Linked DNA regions of Homo sapiens: region 2 is linked to region 1. The links are contacts of gene promoters, found by promoter capture Hi-C in human tissues and cell types (Jung and others, 2019). All regions are on one chromosome and are shown on one strand. The core of a region is centred on a gene start or on the middle of the fragment in contact, and the rest is flanking DNA. Distances in the headings are between cores, read along the strand shown.

Evidence for each region. Contacts are between HindIII fragments. The study calls those that stand out against the background at their distance.
Region 2: a contact is called between a fragment that was not itself captured here and the fragment with the promoter of S100Z in region 1, in 2 of the 25 tissues and cell types used here (bladder and heart right ventricle).

Annotation. Positions count from the first base shown.
Region 1 is chr5:76,848,732-76,851,502 of GRCh38, forward strand. It overlaps S100Z (S100 calcium binding protein Z), which reads left to right and starts at 1,283. Exons shown (of 5, transcript NM_130772.4): 1 at 1,283-1,424. The HindIII fragment of the contact is 8,325 bases long and covers 1-2,771 here.
Region 2 is chr5:76,971,016-76,973,715 of GRCh38, forward strand. It overlaps a transcript of CRHBP not described here. Among named protein-coding and RNA genes, the nearest start is that of CRHBP, 19 kb to the left of the region's middle. The HindIII fragment of the contact is 3,483 bases long and covers 1-2,700 here.

The sequences.
Region 1 (2,771 bases), core at 33-2,532:
CTCTGTCTCCAAAAAAAAAAAAAAAAAATTTATCTTTGAATTCTTTCTTTCAATATATTGTTATCTGTATTTCTGTACTGAGTGCTGTGCTTCTTGACCTGTCTCTGCCCTTTTCTGTGTATTTATTTATTTAATTGACAAGTAAAAATTGTATATATTATGGTATACAAATACAGCTTGATGTTTTAATTTATGTATACATTGTGGAATTATTAAGTCAAGCTATTTGACTTAATTGCCCCATATACTTGTCATTTTTTGGGGGTGATAAAGACACTTAACATCTACTGTCTTAGCAATTTTCGATACACGATATATTGTTATTAACTATAGATAGCATGCTGTACAATGGGAGCTCTTAAACTTATTCCTCCTGGGCCAGGCGCAGTGTCTCACGCCTATAATCCCAGCACATTGGGAGGCCAAGGTGGGCGGATCACTTGAGGTCAGGAATTCAAGACCAGCCTCACCAACATGGTGAAACCCCATCTCTACTGAAAATACAAAAATTAGCCAGGCTTAGTGGTGGGCGCTTGTAATCTCAGCTACTTGGGAGGCTGAGGCAGAAGCTTGAACCAGGGAGGTGGAGGTTGCAGTGAGCTGAGATGATGCCACTGCACTCCAGCCTGGGTGACAGAGCAAGACTCTGTCTCAAAAAAAAAAAAGAAAAAAAGAAATGCTGTGAGGAATTATTAGCCATGAAGCTTCAGCAGGCAGGTTAGGTAGCTTTTCCAGTCACATACTGGTGAAGTAAGGATTTGAACCCCAAGACTCTGGTGCCAGAGTAATTGCTCTTCACCATGAGGAGGCACCAGTGGGGGAGTGTTGGATCACAAGCAGTTTCTTTTTCTTTTTTTTTTGTTTTTTTGAGACGGAATCTGGCTCTGTCACCTAGTCTGGAGGGCAGCGGCGAGCTCAGCTCACTACAACCTCTGCCTCTCAGGTTCAAGCGTTCTCCTGCTTCAGCCTCACGAGTAGCTGGAATTACAGGCGCCCGCCACCATGCCTGGCTAATTTTTATATTTTTAGTAGAGATGGGGTTTCGCCACGTTGACCAGGCTGGTCTCAAACTCCTGACCGCAAGTGATCCACCCACCTCAGCCTCTCAAAGTGCTGGGATTAGAGGCATGAGCCACTGCACCCAGCGCAATTTCGTTAGAGACTTGGTGCCTTCCCATTTCTTTTACTCAGCAATATACCAGCTTTAGGTCCTAAATTAAACCTCTTCCTGCTTTCCCACCTGATGAAGAAACGTGCCTGCAGTGTGGTGAGTCTGGACCACGCAGACTCAGAACAGCACTACTCACAGCAGGGCCTCTTGCTCGCTCTAGCTGCTGGGAGGAAAACGGCTTGCTAATCTCCACGCCCAGAAATTCAGACAAGAGCATTCTCCTTATCTCATCTGCACAGGAAGCAGGTCTAAGGTAAAAGATTATTTTTGTGGAAGATTCTTGCTTTTCAGTCTAGTGGTTGAAGTGTGAGCCTGGCAGGCGTTGGATTAGAGAGGGCAACAAGAGTGGAGGTTGTGAGGTGGGGGGTTGCCTTGGGGCTTCCACTCTAAAATGTGGCCTTACCTTGGCCACAAAGGGGTCGGGGGGGTGGGGGAGAGAGAGAGAGAGAGAGAGAGGGAGAGAGCAGCCTGATCATAGCTCGGAGCGTAGAGGTTCTGGTAAGTTCCTTGCCCTAAAGAACACTTAGTTCATTCTGGCTCCTTTCCTGGTGACCATCCTGGCTTCCTGCTTGGCCTTCACCTCACCTTGAGAAATTCAAGTTTCATGTTCTTGTCCAGGCCAAAGACCCAGAAGAACCTTCAAGGTGAGGCTTGGCCCCTTAGATCCACGCCGTGATTTCGCTTCTTTTTCCTGAAGCCTGCACAGATGCCAGTGTAAGCCCACTCCCAGGAAGTCACAGCAGTGGTCTATGCTCCTCCTCTTCACACTGGCCAGTGCTGGGCATGCCTGGACAATCAGCCCTGGAATGGCTGCTCTCAGCCTACAGAAGAAGAGAGGGAAGAGGGATGGAGGGGCTGGGGAGAAGTTGGTGAGAGGACACAAAATTTGGGTTAGACAGAGAAATAAAGTTTTTTTTGTTTTTTGTTTTTTTCTGAGATGGAGTTTCACTCTGTCACCCAGGCTGGAGTGCAGTGGTGTGATCTCAGCTCACTGCAACCTCCACCTCCCACTTGGCTTCCCAAAGTGCTGCGATTACAGGCATGAGCCACCGCTCCCCAGCCTCCTCATGGGATTTTTGAGGATGACATAAAGGAATACATTTAAACTGCCTAGAAGGGTGCTTGGCCCAGAGTATGTGCTAATTAACGTTGGCTACTATTATTTTCCTTCAACCCAGTGCCGGTGCAGGTCTAGAGGAAAGCATGAGGTGATACAGGGGCACCCAGAGGCGGAGTGCTCCCAGGAGCTGAGGGGCATCGGAGGCTTCCCTGGAGGACTGGCACCTGAGCAGAGGAATGGGCAGCACAGTGGCAGTGCCACGTGTGCGGCACAGATGGTGCAGAGGGGATGGGTGGGCACACTGCGGGGAGTTTAGATTTAGCCAGGGGATGGCAGGGCCTGTCCAGGAGGTTAAGTGAGGAGCTCAGGTGTGCCTCCCAGCAGGCAGGGGAGGCTAATTTTGAAGAAGAGCAAAGTAGGTGCAGGAGGTGAGTTGGGATCTCATGCAGTAATTCAGGCCAGAAGTGACAAGGGCCTGAACTATGGCGCTAGGGTTGAGGAGGAAGGAACAGAGAGTGAGGAGATACAACCTGGCAACTG
Region 2 (2,700 bases), core at 79-2,578, 120 kb after region 1:
AGGATGGGGCAGCTTTCTGGAAACAAAATGGTAAATGAAATCTCCGGGGGAGATTTATAGGTTGTGTCTTCATTGGTATATCCATCAAGCGAGTAAAAGTTTATATGAAACAATATGACTTTCTAAGAAAGGAAGTATAGCGTAGTGGTTAAGGTCATTGACTCTGCAGCCAACCCTCTTGGAATCCCAGCTCTACCACTGACTTGAGCAAGTCACTTATAAGTCTCCATTCCTTAGTTTTTAATCTGTAAAATTTGGGTAATTTACAGTACCTTTACAGAAGGAGAAAGGTGCCTTCTTCAAAAGGTTTTTGGCCACATTAAATGGTTAGATATATTTAAAGCTCAAGACCTGTGTCTCACATGTGTTGGCTGTTATTTTTATTTTTCTCTCTTCTAAGCAAATATGCCATTCTGGGTCCTCCGTACTCTTATTGGGACATTTGCTTTGTACGCTGAAGGATTTGCACTAATTCAATTATACTGTTTCATCCCAGGACATTTGTGAGGAAGCTAGGGTTAGTTAAGGTTGTTGCCTGTCACTGAGAAGCATAGTAACCCCAGCCCTAATCCTCACCCTAATCCTAACGTTTGAGGGTAGATCATGTCAGGATTTATCTAATTCACACACATCTCTTCTCACAGCTCACCCCTGTCTGCAGGCACTGCACTGCTCCAGGACCAATCCTGACCTTGGGCAAGAGGAATTTGAATAGCTCTTGTCTGACGTTCTGGTCATGAGCAAATTGTCTCATAAATTGTCTGGACTATCTGCCCTTCTGCCCCATTCTCCATCTCTGTAATCTTTCAGATCTTGGTTATTTCATTGTAGTAGTTCTTGTCTGGCCCTGTTTTTATCTCTCACTCCTACCTATAGGTCTTTCTGAATACCAATTAGGGGACTAGGGATCTGCTTTCTACAACCAATAACTGATTTCTCAAATTCTTCCTGCCTACATGTCTAAAATTCTGAGCATTTTTGCTCATAGGTTTTATGTCACTGTCACCATCTAATTTTCTAGATGCTTCTCTTTTTTCTTCTTTTGAGACAGGGTCTTGCTCTATTATGCAGGCTGGAGTGCAGTGACAGCTAACTGCAGCCTCAACTTCCTGGGGTCAAGTGATCTCTCACCTCAGCCTCCCAAGTATCTGGGGGTCACGGGTGCATGCTACCTGTGGCTAATTAAAAAAAAAAAAATTATAGGCTGGGCGCAGTGGCTCACACCTGTAATCCCAGCACTTTGGGAGGCCGAGGCAGGCTGATTGCCTGAGGTTGGGAGTTCGAGATCAGCCTGATCAGCATGATGAAACCCTGTCTCTACTAAAAACACAAAAATTAGCCGGGCATGGAGGCAGGCGCCTGTAATCCCAGCTACTTGGGAAGCTGAGACAGGAGAATCGCCTGAACCCGGGAGGCGGAGATTGCAGTGAGCCGAGATCATGCCATTGCACTCCAGCCTGGGCAACAGAGGGACTCCGTCTCAAAAAAAAAAAATTTATAGAGACAGGGTCTCACTATGTTGCCCAAGCTGGTCTCAAATTTCTGGGCTCAAGCGATCCACCCACCTCAGCTTCCCAAAATGTTAGGATTATAGGCATGAGCCACTGCACCCAGCCTTGTGGATCCTTTTCTACCTCCTCTAATCCTGCCTCTTCTGCCACTGTCTTCGAGCCTGCCATCTATGGAATATCTTGATCTGCCTATGATACTGGACTTTCTCCTAGTATATAAAGCAGCATGTCTTCTTTACCTCCAACTACTCCCTGGTACTGTTGCTTCATTTAAGTGGGTAGGGCAGAAATGCTATATGTTCATCAGAACTCACTTTACAACCTCTCTTACAGTTAGGCTTGGTCACGTGACTGAATTATCACAGAAAGAATGTGGGTGGATATGATGTCCACCCCTTGATATGATCCTCCACACCTTCTCTCTCTTCCCATACCTACTATCTGTTAGACACAGAGGCTTGAACAGAGGACTCCAAGGCCATACAGGAAAACAGAGCCATAGGATGCAAGAAGCCTGCATCTCTGAATGACCACATAGACGGCTGCCTATTGACTATGCATATCCACATTGGACTTTGTATGAATGAGAAATAAATTTTTATTTTGTTAAGCCACTGAGATAAATATATATAGCACTATTATCATACTTCATACAATGGGCCTGTCTAAATCCAATTCTTAGCTATTCTGTCTGTTTTCGTTGCAACTATCCAGACAGGCCTGACTTGACTCTTCCAAAGAAAAATACCTCAAATGCACATCTTTGATCTTATGAAAACTAAGCTTTAACTGGTATAACCATATGCAACCTTTCCACATTCTTTAAATAGTCTTAGAACAGTGATCCTTAGACCTCTTTGAAAATCTGACAGGAGCTAGAAATTGTTTTCCAGTAAAATATCTCTATACATACAAAAATACCATGCAAATACCTGAGAGTTCACAAACCCCTGAAGAGCATCTAAGGATTTCAGGATAACTCCTGCTATTGGATTCAGCAATGGATGAAAGTCAGTTTTATATCAGTCTTCTCACACTGAATTGCCCTCTCTTCAATATTAGTTTAAAACATTCATTAGTGAATCTGGCTGCAAAATAAGTCCATAATAACAACTTAGTCTTTCTGCTTCTATATTTATTTAATTTTGCCTTTTACCAGATGAGTTTTTCTTCATCTGCTATGTAGTTT